Linked DNA regions of Homo sapiens: regions 2, 3 and 4 are each linked to region 1. The links are contacts of gene promoters, found by promoter capture Hi-C in blood cells and fetal thymus (Javierre and others, 2016). All regions are on one chromosome and are shown on one strand. The core of a region is centred on a gene start or on the middle of the fragment in contact, and the rest is flanking DNA. Distances in the headings are between cores, read along the strand shown.

What was found. Contacts are between HindIII fragments. The CHiCAGO score rates a contact against its expected background, and 5 or more counts as called.
Region 2: a contact is called between a fragment that was not itself captured here and the fragment with the promoter of MTRES1 in region 1, in 1 of 17 cell types (M2 macrophages). The highest score is 6.3, in M2 macrophages.
Region 3: a fragment that was not itself captured here is called in contact with the fragment with the promoter of MTRES1 in region 1 in 2 of 17 cell types (M1 macrophages and naive B cells); the score reaches 5.5 in M1 macrophages.
Region 4: a contact is called between a fragment that was not itself captured here and the fragment with the promoter of MTRES1 in region 1, in 1 of 17 cell types (neutrophils). The highest score is 6.2, in neutrophils.

What each region holds. Positions count from the first base shown.
Region 1 is chr6:107,026,351-107,030,066 of GRCh38, forward strand. It overlaps MTRES1 (mitochondrial transcription rescue factor 1), which reads left to right and starts at 1,849. Exons shown (of 4, transcript NM_016487.5): 1 at 1,849-1,921. RefSeq lists a silencer at 1,668-2,137 and enhancers at 2,248-2,357, 2,468-2,567. The HindIII fragment of the contact is 13,635 bases long and covers 1-3,716 here.
Region 2 is chr6:106,340,671-106,344,386 of GRCh38, forward strand. No RefSeq gene overlaps it. Among named protein-coding and RNA genes, the nearest start is that of ATG5, 17 kb to the left of the region's middle. The HindIII fragment of the contact is 2,511 bases long and covers 638-3,148 here.
Region 3 is chr6:106,369,245-106,372,960 of GRCh38, forward strand. All of the region lies in intron 1 of CRYBG1 (crystallin beta-gamma domain containing 1), which reads left to right. Among named protein-coding and RNA genes, the nearest start is that of CRYBG1, 10 kb to the left of the region's middle. The HindIII fragment of the contact is 646 bases long and covers 1,808-2,453 here.
Region 4 is chr6:106,437,861-106,441,576 of GRCh38, forward strand. The region is part of intron 1 of CRYBG1 (crystallin beta-gamma domain containing 1); the gene reads left to right. Among named protein-coding and RNA genes, the nearest start is that of CRYBG1, 79 kb to the left of the region's middle. The HindIII fragment of the contact is 5,946 bases long and covers 1-3,716 here.

The DNA of each region.
Region 1 (3,716 bases), core at 599-3,098:
GGTTTTGGTCCTATCAAGTTTGAGATTTCCGTTAGATTTCCAAGTGAAGATGTTAAGTAGGCAGTTGTAGTCTTGAATGCAAGAGAATGATCTCGGCTCGCAATACAAATTTGAGGATCGTCCATATATAGATAATATTTAAAGCCACGAAATTGTTGGAGATCGACTGGGGAACTAGGATAGATAAAAAGGAAAAAGATTAGAGGTCTAAGTATGGGGCACTTACTCTTTGGCATTCTAAGGATGTAATGAAAAAACAGCTGGCTGGGAGTGGTGGCTCATGCCTGTAATCCCAGCACTTTGAGATGCCAAGGCAGGTGGATCACTTGAGGTCAGGAGTTTGAGACAAGCCTGGCCAATATTGGTGAAACCCTGTCTCTATTAAAACTACAAAAATTAGCCGGGCATGGTGGTGCGTACCTGTAGTCCCAACTACTAAGGAGGCTGAGGCAGGAGAATCGCTTGAACCCGAGAGTGAAGGTTGCAGTGAGCAGAGATCATGCCATTGCACACCAGCCTGGGGGCCAGAGCAGGCCTCATTCTCAAAAACAAAAAAACAAAACAAAACAAAAGAAAAAACAGGGAAGAAGATTAAGTGGCAAGTGAGGTAGGTGAAACCAATGGGGTATCCTATAACTCAAGTAAGTTGAGGAATGAGACCAGACCTTTGGATTTACATTGCAGAGGTCATCTGTGACTTTGACTAGAAGTTTTGTTAGAATGTTGCAGGGTGACATCTTGTTTGGTGTATGAGTCAGAGTTCTCCACAGACAGACCTAATGAGAGAGGGATGGATGGATGGATGGATGGATGGATGGACGAATGGATGGATAGTTGGTTGGGAGGGAAAGGGGAATTGGCTCACGTGTAAATTGCGTTGGTCTTGAAAAGATGTTTCCTTAAACTGCGAGTCTGACGTATTTGCACATTTTTCTGGAAACAACGCCTATATCTCTTGGAGATGTTCAAAGAGGGCGGGCTCGGTGGCTTACACCTGTAATCCCAGCACTTTAAGAGGCTGAGGCTGGAAGATCGCTTCTCTTGAGTCCCAGCCTGGGCAATATGGCGAAACCCCATCTCTACAAACAAAACAAAACAAAACAAAAATTAGCAGGCCGTGGTGGCACACACCTGGAGTCCCAGGTACTGGGGAGGCTGAGGTGGGGAGAACAGCTTGAGCCTGGGTAGCAGAGGTTGCAGTGAGCCGAGATCGCACCATTGCACTCCGGGCAACAGAGTGAGACCCTGTCAAAAAAAAAAATGTTCAAAGGGGTTAGTGGTCCCAGAGAAAGGATCACTTCATTAATAATTAAGATGATTAGCCGGTCATGGTGGCTCACGCCTGTAGTCCCAGCTACTTAGGAGACTGAGGAACGACAATCGCTTGAACCCGGGAGGCGGAGGTCGCAGTGAGCTGAGATTACGCCGCTGCACTCCAGCCTGGGCAAGAGTGAGACTCGGTTTCAAAAAAAAAAAAAAAAGAAAAAAGAATTAAGATGGCCGGGCGCGGTGGCTCACGCCTGTAATCCCAGCACTTTGGGAGGCCGAGGAGAGCGGATCACGAGGGCGGGAGATCGAGACCATCCTGGCTAAAACGGTGAAACCCTGTCTCTGCTAAAAACACAAAAAAATTAGCCGGGCGTGGTGGTGGGCGCCTGTAGTCCCAGCTACTCAGGAGGCTGAGGCAGGAGAATGGCGTGAACCCGGGAGAATGGTGTGCCCCGAGCCTACTTCCCGCGCAGTCCTCCAAGACGCGGCCTCCAGCAGGGGTCGCTGCTTCGCTGCCGCCCTGGCCTCGCGCCCCGCCCGACCCGCTCTCACTGCGCCGGCGCCGGCGGAAGGGGCGGGGCGCAGATAGGGGTAGCCTGGAGGCCTGCAGTCCGCGCGGCCGCGGGGAGGGACGAGAGGGCCTGACGTACAGGTGAGTGCGCCTCTGCTGGCGCGCCGCGCCGGGCCCCCTGCCCGCGCCCCCTGTCACTTCGCCTCTCCGCCCCGCCCACGCTCCCGCCGGGTCTCCCCGTGAGTGTCCCGTGTCCTGCCAGCCTCGGGACGCCCCGCGAGCTCAGGGCTGCGCAGGGACTGTGGTAATTGAGCGCGGCGAAGCCTTCCGTTCCTGCCTCCTGTCGCTCCTGCTGGCTCCGAATGCAGACTGCGAACCCGGGGACGCAGTTGTCCATTTCCTTTGACCTTGGGGACCCAGGAAGGTGCACTGCCCGCGGGGGTGGGGAGGGAGCGAGAGGAATCCGACCCTGTCTCAGCCCACAGCCTCCGAGGTCTCCAAGTAAAGGGAAGGATCTTTAGCTGCATTAGACTTCAAAGCGTTTAGACCAGTTTCTCCATCTTACGGAGCGGTGAACGGGCTCAGGAATGTGGAGCGTTTCCTGGCGTCAAGCAGGTCAAAGTCAGCGCTGCTTTTTTTACAGACACTGCTTTTCTTACAGTCTTCGGTTAGTTCAGATTGTATACCTCTCCTGAAGATGTCACCCAAAACCTCCTATGGGATTCTGCCGTGATCATCTCTCCACTCATCCCACACCAACGCCAAAGAGATCTTTTAAAATGAACTTCCATCAGGTCACTTCCCAGGGTCCATCATTGCGTGTTCTTTTCCTGATTCATTCGAATGCACCCGTCCTCCTGATCAATTTTTATTCCACAGGGTGTTGTTTTGTTTTGTTTTGTTTTGTTTTTTTGAGACGGAGTCTTGCTCTGTCGCCCAGGCTGGAGTGCAATGGCGGGATCTCGGCTCACTGCAAGCTCCGCCTCCCAGGTTCACGCCATTCTCCTGCCTCAGCCTCCCCAGCAGCTGGGACTACAGGCGCACACCGCCACACCCGGCTATTTTTTTTTTTTTTGAGACGCAGTCTCGCTCTGTCGCCCAGGCTGGAGTGCAGTGGCGCGATCTCTGCTCACTGCAAGCTCCGCCTCCCGGGTTCACGCCATTCTCCCGCCTCAGCCTCCCGAGTAGCTGGGACTACAGGCGCCTGCCACCACGCCCGGCTAATTTTTTGTATTTTTAGTAGAGACGGGGTTTCACCGTGTTAGCCAGGATGGTCTCGATTTCCTGACTTCCTGATCCGCACGCCTAAGCCTCCGACAGTGCTGGGATTACAGGCGTGAGCCACCGCGCCCGGCCTGTTTTGTTGTTTTTTTTTTTGACACTCGCTCTGTCGCCGAGGCTAGAATGCACTGGTGTGAACTCGGCTCACTGCAGCCTCCCCCTCCCAGGTTCAAGCGATTCTTCAGCCTCAGCCTCCCAAATAGCTGTGACTACAGGTGTGCACCACCACGCTTGGCTAATTTTTGTATTTTTAGTAGAGACGAGGTTTCACCATGTTGACCAGGCTGGTCTTGAACTCCTGGCCTCAAGTGATCCGCCCGCCTCAGCCTCCCCAAGTACTGGAATTACAGGCATGAGCCACCGCGCCCATACTATTTTTATTTTAGATCTCACTGTGTTGCCCAGGCTGATCTCAAACTCTTGGACACAAGCGAGTCTCCTGCCTTGGCCTCCCAAAGTGCTGGGATTATAGGCGTGAGCCACCTGCCTGACCTCATCTTGCCCTCTCAATCCCCCTTACCCTGCTCCACTTTCTTCCCCCAGTGCATTAACCACCAGCTATCATATAATTTACAGGGTGTTTTTTTTTTTGTCTACCTGTTTCCCCTACTAGACTATAAACTCTACAAGAATAGGAATCTTCGTATTTTTTTCC
Region 2 (3,716 bases), core at 643-3,142, 690 kb before region 1:
AACCCCTAGACTGTACGACACCAAGAATGAACCCTGTAGTAAGCTATGGACACTGCATGATAGATGTGTAAATGCAGGTTCATCGATTGTAACCTACAGGCCTTATTTATGTAGTTAGGACTGTCCCAGATAGCTGTGACTACAGGCCCAAACCAGCACACCCAGCTAACATAAAGTGTGTTTTGACTGGCGATGTCTCTGGAGGCAATGGGAGCAATTGAAAAACTACCACAGTCAACTGGGAAATGATGACAAAGGCAAGGCAGTGGGATGAAGAAGAGGGTGGAAAGAAGAAATGTTCAAGAGGAATAATCAAGGACTTTAGTGACTGATTGGGTGAGTTTGTGAGGGCGGCTGAGGTGTTAGTGTTCAGGCTGTTAACCAAGACCAATGCCAAAACGAGATTACCCACTAGCAACACCAAACGCCTGCAAGGATGTGAGCAACAGGAAGTCTCATTCATTGCTGGTGGGAATGCAAAATGGTACAGCCACTTTGGAACACAATTTGGTGGCTTCTTACAAAACTAAACACAATCTTCCCATCTGATCCTGCAATTGGGCTCCTTGGTATTTACACAAAGGAGTTGAAAACTTGTGTTCATACAAAAACTTCTATCCATATGGATGTTTGTAGAAGCTTTATTCACAAATACCAAAACTTGGAGGCAACCAAGATATCCTTCAGTGGGTGAACGGATAAACTATGGTACATACAGACAAATAGAATATTATTCATCACTAAAAAGAAATGTGCCATCAAGTCATGAAAAGACATTTAATGAAACTTAAATGTATGTTGCTAAGTGAAAAAAGCCAGCCCAAAAAGGCTACATACTGTATGGTCCCAACTACACAACATTCTGGAAATGGTAAAACTATAAAGACACTTAAAAGACAAGTGATTGCCCTGTGTGGTGGCTCACGCCTGTAATCCCAGTACTTTGGGAGGCTGAAGCTGTTGGATCTCCTGAGGTTGGGAGTTCAAGACCAGGCTGGCCAATGTGGCAAAACTCTGTCTCTACTAAAAATACTAAAATTATCTGGGTGTGGTGGTGGGCACCTGTAATCCCAGCTACATAGGAGGCTGAGGCCAGAGAATCACTTGAATCTGGGTGGCAGAGGTTGCAGTAAGCTGAGATCACATGGCTGCACTCCAGCCTGGGCAACACAGTGAGACTCCATCTCAAAAAAAAAAAAAAATCAGGGGTTGAAGGGAGGGAGGGATGAACAGGCAAAGCACCAGTGACTCTTAGGGCAGTGAAACTACTCTGCATGACACTAGAATGGTGGATATATGTCATTATAAGTTATCCAAACCCCTAGACTGTACAACATCAAGAGTGAACCCTATGGTAAGCTATGGGCACTGTGTGATAATGATGTGTAAATGTAGGTTCATCAGTTGTAAACTACAGGCCTTATTTATGTAGTGAGGACTGTCTAAAATTAGCCCATGAATCACTGTCTCTAAGCATTGTTGTTTGCTGAAGTATTAATATTAATGATACAAAGAAATTATAAAACTGATAAGAAGAAAATTTTTAGCATGTGTTCCCTAGAGCTCAAAGTTGGTTAATGTCACTCTGGTGGGCAATGTTGTTAGTGGGGGGCTATACCTGTGTGGGGGCAGAGGATATATGGGAAGTCTCTGTACCTTCTATTCAAATTTCTTATGACCCTAAGAATGCTCTAGAAAAACTAAGTCTAAAAAAAAAAAAAAAAGAAAAAAGAAAAACTAAGTCTATTAAAAAGGTGGGGGATTACCTGCAAAGTATCCTTATGGAATTTTATGGTAACATCTAAAGAGATCTAGAGTTTGAGGGAGCAGTCTAGACTGGAGGCATTTTCTTAAGAAGACATTTATCACTCATGTTAGTCTGGGTCCTCCCAGAAGCAGACTCCAGGACAGGATTAAATTTACAAATATTTCTCTAGGAGAAGTCTCTGTGATAGAAAATGTAGGGGGGTCAGGCATGGTGGCTCACGCCTGTAATCCTAGCACTTTGAGAGGCTGAGGCAGAAGGATCGCTTGAGCCCAGGAGTTTGAGACTGGCCCAGGGAACATGGGGACATCCCTGAAAAAAAAAAAAAAAAAAGAAGGCCAGGCTCTGTGGCTCAAGCCTGTAATCCCAGCACTTTGGGAGGTGGAGGCGGGCGGATCAACTGACGTCAGGAGTTCAAGACCAGCCTGACCAGTATGGTGAAAACCTGCCTCTACTAAAAATACAAAAATTAGCCGGGCATGGCGGCACATGCTGTAATCCCAGCTACTCAGGAGGCTGAGGCAGGAGAATCACTTGAACTCCGGGGGGCTGAGGTTGCAATGACCCAAGATCACACCATTGCACTCCAGCTTGGGCAACAGAGCAAGACTTGGTCTCAAAAAAAAAAAAGAAAAAGAAAAAGAAAAGGAAAATGTAGGGAGAGAGGAGGGGCTGGGAAAGCCAGCTGTCAGTGGAGCAAAGGAGCAGGTGGATAGAAGCCAGTTTAGCCTAAGGTAGGTGCAACAAGAAATTTTTAGATGTCTCAAGCCAAAGTCATCAGTCAGAGGAGTCCCATGGAATAGGACTGCCCTCTAATCTCCAGCATGCTCAGTCCCTGGGCCCTCAATCAATCACTCTCACTCAGTAAAGATCTGTGAAGTGTATTCTCCTGACCACCACCACACTTTAACAAATACGTCTTATTTTAATATATACACATCAGTGTAAACAAAAGTTCAACACAATAAACTGTTCTTTGCCATCATGAAGTTCTGAGGGGCAGTGCATAGCTTTGCGTCTCTTGGCCACGGTTTCAGACCTTTCCTCTTCCCCTCTAGATGTCTCTGTAGTTCCTGATACTCAAATACCAGCTATTTAGGGATTAACAGATAAACCTATTCTTCATGCATTGCTGCTACATTGCTTTTTTGCCTACATGTCTTAATCTGATACTTCATTTAAAAAGCAGGATGTTTTGACCAGGCGTGGCAGCTCATGCCTGTAATCCCAGTACTTTGGGAGGCCAAGGGAGGTGGAACACCTGAGGTCAGGAGTTCAAGACCACTCTGACCAACATGGCAAAACCCTGTCCCCACTAAAAATACAAAAATTTAGCCAGGTGTGGTGGCATGCGCCTGTAGCCACATTTATTTAACCTTCCTAAGCTTTATTCTTCTCACCTATGAAATGGGGTAACAATAGTTGCAACCCTATAGTATTGTTATAGTAATAAATTATACATATGTTATATATACATAACAAATAAACATCTGTTTATATATGTGCTGTATGTTATATGCATATTTATATTTATATATATATACAATATTACACAGTGCCTGGTGTATGGTAAGCACTCAAAAAATTAACCATAATAATAACTATTGGCTGGGTGTGGTGGCTCATGCCTGTAATCCCAACAGTTTGGGAGGCCAAGCATGGAGGATTGCTTGAGCCCAGGACTTCAAGACCAGCCTGGGCAGCACAGGAAGACTATGTCTCTATTAAAAAAAAATAATAATAAATATTAATAACATCATTGTTTTTACCTCCCTGCTATTAGACTTACTCCCCTTTTTCATGTTAATTAATTAATTAATTAAAGCTTTCCTAAAGTATTTCCTGATCTTTAGGAATCTCTCACATAATTGCTAACATTTTTTTGGCACCCACTTTGGGCACCTTTATAGTATTTGAAATTTGACAGCAGGTGGCAGAAAACTCAACCAAA
Region 3 (3,716 bases), core at 881-3,380, 660 kb before region 1:
ACACACACAAAAAGAAACACAATTAACAAGTACCTTTTGTTTGTTACCTTCTCATAAATGGCAATTAAATGAGTAAAAGTAGGTTGGTGTTAAGCTTGGCAAAAGATACTGTGGGGAAGAAAGTTGGCTGCTGGTTGTGTTTATTGTTTGTGCCATTTCAAGCTAGCAACCCTAACTGAGTCTCAGTCATTAGAATTTAGGTTTATTCCAAAGGTAATATCGACAGCTCAAATATGAGATTTGGCCAACAGTTACATAAAGTCACCATGCAGAGTACACCTCTTAATTTTTTTCAAATTTGTTTATAAGTAGTAGCATAAGCTCATGATAGTCTTTGGATTCGTTTTTTAATCTTATGATTAGGATCAAGGGTCAAAATAATATATGCTGCATATAAGATAAGAAAATAGAGGAAGCATGTGCTTTATAATAACTTCAGACCATGTCTGTGAAAACATTGTTTCCCATCAATATTTGATTGAGAGATGCAGTTTATTCAATATGCACTATGTATCAGACACTGTTCTAAGTGCTTTACAAATATTAACCCACTACAGTTAATTTATAACTTTCCTCAGAGGTAGGCACTATTATTAGTCCCATATTGAGGAAAAATCAGGCACAGAGGGGTATGATTATTTGGTCAAAGTCACAGAGCTCATTAAGAGTGAGGCTGGGATTCCCCAGCCGGTGATCTTGAGTCCTTGTGGTTAATCACTGCAGGTAAATCCCTGCAAGTTAATCACTGTGGTTAATGGTGCTTTCTTTATATTCTTATATGAGTTCATTTAGCCTCTAGATCTCACAAGTAGAAATTAAAATACATATGATAAATTAAGTTTTGGTACTAGACAATTTCTACGTTAAATAGTGGAAAGAAATATGTTAATTAATAGAAATATAAGTTCATTAAAATCTTAGATGAAAAAAGATTTTAAAACAGAAATTCAAAAGTATATATTATAAATGAAAGTATCATGTGTAGATTCTGAGTTTGGGGCTTCTGCCCAAGCTGTGTCAGAAAAAAGCATTACCAAGAGGTGGACCTACTTCGTACCCCTTCTTCTGCCCTGACACAGGCAGGAGAATGCAAGGTCAGAGATAAGTGGTAGATGGGGGGCCCTCTAGTTGCTGCCCATGCTAAAGAGGCATGGCAGAATTTCTCAAGTAGTTGCTTTACCAGTTGCTGCAGAAAGCTGCTCCTGGCTGCTCTAACTTTAGGCCTCTAGAAGCCCTGCTGCTTGAATCCATTGGTTTTACCTCCTGACTTATTCTTGAGGATTCCCTGGCAATGAATACAGGTTCCACCTTACATTGACCTTACACTTCAAGGATTGTAAACCATTGCTGATACTTTATCCCACTTGAGGCTTATAAGGGTTCTGTGAAATAAGCCCATACCCTCATTCTGAGGATAAGGAAACTGAAGTTCATGGAAGGTAATGCAGGTGGAGGAAGCAGGACTAAAACTCAGATTTTCTGATTTTTTCTTAGCTGTTCTTTTGGGTTCTCTTGCATTGTGTACTATACCTTCACTCCTGGCCTGTACCCACCTTTGACAGGAGCCCAACTGACTCATCTGACTTCCTGATGACTATTCCCCTGGAAATCTTCCCTTAGTTTCATAAACTAACAACGATGAGACTGTCTGATCCCTAGATTGAGTGACTAGTTATTCAGCCAGCACCTATAGTCTGGTTATTGACATACTGGATAATTTCTGGGTTTCTACTATAATTAGTACCTCACCTACTACCTAAAAAAAGCCAACAAAAATAAAAATAACTCAATTCATGATTTTTTAAAAAGCTTGCACAAGCCATATTTTATAACAACAAAATGTCACTTAAAGTGATAGAGCCTATCAGTATGATATTGTACCTATGCAAGAACTCCCTTTACAAGGCTTGAAGTAATGCTGGTGCTGTGACACGTAATATAGTGTATTCATAATTTGTCACTTAAATGTTTTCATAATACTGATGGATTCATAAATATCTCATGAAAGCACAGCTTGAGTTTTTGCATCTGCTATTAGTAAAAGGTATGATAGTTGAAGCAACTGTTGACATTCACACTGAAATTCAATGTCTCCTTTATCATGCATGTCATTACAAACCTAAGAACTGGCCCTTTTCAAGCCTGGGCAGAGGAGGCTCACCCAGGCCTTGCCAGCCACTCTTGGCTCTACTGCCTTGCTTCTTTCCCCACTGTTGGCTTCCTTCCCCACCATTTAGCTCCCATGAACTAAGTGGTTGTTATTATCAGCAAAACAAGAAAATGTAGTTACTGCAAGGGTGGGATTACCGAACTATTCTCTTTTGTATTGGCTATCCAAAACAATTTTGTCTGGAGTGGACTCAATTATCAATCAGGAGTCCTTCATTGGAACATACGTAGGGTTTGAAACAAGAGCACTTGTATTCCTGTGTATCAGTATACATGTTTAAACAAGCTTGTCTAAAACTAGATTTTGGATTTCTTTCAAGATAAAAGCAAAGTAGGACTGAATGTCTGCATTTGCTCAAAAGTTTTGACCTTTACTAATTTGCATTTTGTGATTGTCGTAATGTTACCCTGTAAAAGGTTTCAAGTACTTTGGCCTAGAAGTCTTAGTAGCTAGGTGCATTGCTGGCACTTAATTGTATCCTTTCCTGTTGTTCCACTTTTATTAAAAGCTTTTTTGTATGCCCATGAGGAAACAACCAGTCACAATAGCTGATAACTGTTGACAATGTAGAGAGGCGATGTCTCCATCATCATGTAGTTTCTTCCTACAGAGACGCTCCTCAGGAATTTATGCATCTGCTTTCTCACTGCAGGATTTCTGGTTGCCTTTCTGTGTATAAGCATACATTGGCTACAATTCCACTAACTTACAAAGCCAGCAGAAGTTAAACAAAGAGGAGCACCATTTTATATCTTAATGCCACTCCATAACTGATCAACAAAGAACAAACGTATAAGTTGGTGCAAAAGTAATTGAGGTTTTTGTCATTACTTTGTTTTTGTCATTACTTTTTTTTTTTAGATAGGGTCTCCAGTTGCTCAGGCTGGAGTGCAGTGGCACAATCTCAACTCACTGTAGCCTTGACTCCCTGGGCTCAGGTGATCCTCCCACCTCAGCCTCCTGAGTAGCTGGGACTACAGGTACGTGCCATCACACCCAGCTAATTTTTGTATTTTCAGTAGAGACCAGATTTGGCCATGTTGGCCAGGCTGCTCTCAAACTCCTGACCTCAGGTGATCTGCCCACCTTGGCCTCCCAAAATGCTGGGATTACAGGCGTGAGCCACCGTGCCTGGCCTTTTGTCATTACTTTTAATGGCAAAAACTGCAATTACTTTTGCACCAACCTAATAAAAACAGTTGGGTTTGAGCACGTTCACTGAGAAAGATGGGTGTGGCATGCGGGAATGAAGGGAAAGGATTCTTTTTGGCCAGATAATTCTCAATCTCTCCTATAAACTAAATAAACATAAGGACATTTTGTCAATTGTGTATAAGACAAGGGACATGAACAATTCCTTATTATGTGACAGTTGCTTTCATATCAGTGTATCTCATTCAGTCTTCATAGTAGCTGTGCCAAATAGGTATTTCTACCTTCATATTTATAACTGAGAAGACAGAACCTGAAAGAAGTATTTTAGCTAATAAATGACAGAGCAGTATTTGAAATACTTCTTTCTGGCTCTAAACCTCAAAATATTTTC
Region 4 (3,716 bases), core at 495-2,994, 590 kb before region 1:
GGAATTATCTTTGATATGGTATAACTTGGCTGGGATTTAAAGGAATGGACGATATAGAGATACACAGTTCTCTTTAGCTCAGAGATTCTCTCTCAGTACTTCTTGATTTTATTTCAAGGTTTCTTAGTTCCTGAGACAGCACCTTTTTATGTTGGGACTTTTGGTGTCTTTGGAGTGCCTGGATGACTTTAAAGGGCATGTACATCTTTTTATTTATCTTTCTTCCTTCCACAGGGCTTAGTAGAGTGCTTTACTAAGAGACAGCCCATTCTACACCTCCCTGGAAGAGACTGGCACATGCCAAGCCTCATTTAAAAACTACTCTGAAGGCCAGCGTCCCTAAAAAGATCTCTTCCTCTGAGTTATTACTGATGCCAGAAATACCTGTTATTTCATCTCTGTGTTAAACGTTGCCCTCTCCTCAAGCTGTCTTTTAGAATGCACATTCACGTTGGGGTAGCGTGGTATATTAGTTTCCTGGGGTAGCTATAACAAGTTGCCGTAAACATGGTCACTTAACAGTTTTTTCTCTCTCACAGTCTGGGGGCTAGAAGTCCAAAATCAAAGTTTCAGCAGGACCGTGCTCCTTCTGAAGGCTCTAGGGAAGGATCCCTCCTTGCTCTTCCTAGCTTCCCATGGCTGCTGGCAATCCTTGGTGTTCTCGTTGGCTTCCCACTGCGTCACTCCAGTCTCCTCCTGCATTGTCACAGGCGTGTGGCTCTGTCTATAAGCAAATAGTAAATCCATAATCCATATGTGTTTGCTTTCCCATAACATGCTTACATTTTAAGCAGAGAATCAAAGTTTTTGCATGGTATTTCTTCGGTTGATCAATATCTTCCTTTTTCTACTAGTAAAACAGATAAACTATTGATAGGAAAGTGAGAGGACAAAATGAATAATCCATTGGAATGATTCATGTAATGGTTTGATGTCAAATATTTTCGGTTTTCAAAAATAAATGAGTTAATAGTAATTGCAGTTATGTGATTTTCTCATATTTAAAGTCTAGTAGCATAAATTGTAACTGTTAAATTTGGTAACAAGAGAAAAATATGGTCAGGTGCAGTGGCTCATGCCCGTAATCCCAAAATTTTGGGAGGCTGAGGTGGGAGGATCACCTGACCCCAGGAGTTTGAAACCAGCCTGGGAAACATAGTGAGACCTGGTATCAATTTACTTAAAAAATGAAAAAAAAAAAAAAAAGAGAAAAATATTTTGAGTGGTTCCCAAGTGAGGAAAACCTAAGATTTTCTTCTTTTAAAGAAAAAAACGGATGACAGATTGGGAAATTAATTTTGCTAATAAAATATTTTGATCCTTTTCAGTAAAAAGCAACTATCAAAGCTGGGAAAAATACCAATAGCCTTTATTCTTCCCTTTTAAACAATGTGTGAAATAGAAAATTTTAATAAAATTTAATTATCTCCTTTTTAATTTTATGAATTTCTCATTTTTAGAAGCATCTTTATATGTCCTACCATTATTCAGTTTATAAAAAATAAGTTTGTTTCCTTTTTGAATTATTGTTAATATTCTTTAAAATTTGGTACAAAGACAATATGAAGATATTTTAACTGAAGAATATGAATACAGTGGTTCTTTGTGTTAGATTGTGCCCAATTTTCACAAAGTGAAAGTTTCTACCTTCGTCTTGACTGCAGGAATAAAAATCTCCTGTGAGCAGAGATTGTTGACTCAAGAGTCCTCATCATTCTACCTGATGAGATAACACTCCCTAATTTAAAATATTGTTAAACAAAATAAATATTTTCTTGGGACAGAATGCTTTGTGGTTTAGTGACTCAACTCTCTCTGTACTGGAAGCCTCAACCAGTGGCACAAGAAAAAAACTTGTTTTGTATCATCCCTGACTGAAAAAAAAAAAGCATTTGTTTTATACCCACTGAGTACAGGTTATAGAGACAGAAGGTGATATGGTTCTTAGCTCCTAAAAAGCCTATGATTAAATTGAGAAACTGATATATGTTCCCGGAAAACCTAGATGAACACTTACTAAATAGTACTAGGTGCAACTATATGAAATTGCCATATTTGACTGGTTTTGACCTACAAAAATGGTATTTCATAATGTTGAACCTCGAAGTTCAAAACCACTTACTTTCTCTCCCCTGCATTATGCACATCCTTCAGTTCTCTGTGTCAAGAGCTGTACAAGAAGCCTGTGTTAAGCCTGGCAGTCCCAGCACCCAGCCCAGGGAAGACGTGGGGCTGGTGGCTTTCCCCTTCCAGGGCTGTGCACCTGCTGTGCTGCCTCTCTTCTTCTGCCCTCTACTCTCCCTCAGCTACATTATTTCCACATATAGAATTTTCCTTCCTTTAAAGCACATCCTCACCTTATTTGAAGCACTTTCCTTTCTTCCTCTCTCTCTCTCTCTCTCTCTCTCTTTTTTTTTCTTTTGAGACAGAGTCTCTCTCTGTCACCCAGGCTGGAGTGCAGTGGCATGATCTTGGCTCACTGCAACCTCCACCTCCTGGGTTCAAGCAAGTCTTCTGCCTCAACCTCCCAAGTAGCTGGGACTGTAGGCGCACACCACCATGCCCAGCTAATTTTTGTATTTTTTTGGTAGAGGCAGGGTTTCACTATGTTGCCCAGGCTGGTCTCGAACCCCTGATCTCAAGCGATCCACCTGCCTCAGCCTCCCAAAGTGCTGGGATTACAGGTGTGAGCCACTGCACCCGGCCCCTTTCTTTTTTTCTTTCCATTCTTTGTTTCCCCTTTCATTCCATTATTAATCACTATCACTCAGTTGATGGCTGTAAAGCCTAAAAGTAAAGCTAGTGATGCATTTGTGTGACGGAAAGGGAAAAACCATGAATCTTGATGTGAAATTAGAAATAATAATCATCAACATGTGGTAACAACAAAAGCTCTGTAAAGTCATGTTACAGCCTGTGAAAAATTCTCCACCCACCATCTCTTTCTGATGAAACTGATGTTTCTCAATAATCCCTATTCTTAAAAAGAGAATAATCTACACTTGAGAAAAATAGACACTATTTCTCACACCATTTTATTGCTTTCTTTTTCTTTTTAAAAACTAGTATTGAAACAATTCTGTGATTTATAACGATGTCCTTTTCTTTTTGCTGTAGTGTAATATTTCAGCTACATGAAATTGACTTTTAGGGGCTTATGAAACAGGATTTATTACAATCAGGGAAATCTTGGAGGAAGTGAATTTTGAAATTAGACTTGATGGAATTTGATAGCCAAAGATTACAAAGAGGAGAGGCAAAAGCATTAATAGAAAACCCAAGCAAAGACATATAAATAATGAAGCAAGTTGTATGTATGGGAAGGGCAAACAAATCTGTCTGACCACAGCTGGAAGTCTGAGGTGGAGGGAGGGGAGAAGGAGGTTAGAGTGGTATTGGAACACCCTTAGGGTGGGAATTTGAAGCTGACATTTGGAGCTTGTGACTAGCATCTTTGCAAGGACAACTTTATTTGGATAGATGGAGAGCAGGGATACTGTGATAATCTCTTTTTCCCTCTGCTTGCCTCTGCACCTTAGAGAATTTCTATTCATGAGAGCTGAGGTGATAAATATCAGTCCATCTCAGATTCAGCTTCACAGCCATTCTATTGTCTTCAGTCAGCAAAACTGTATCCCTGACGTGTTGCTAATACATAAAGATTTTTCATGAGAAATGATTTTAAATTAGAGTTCTCTTTTGAAACATTAACACCA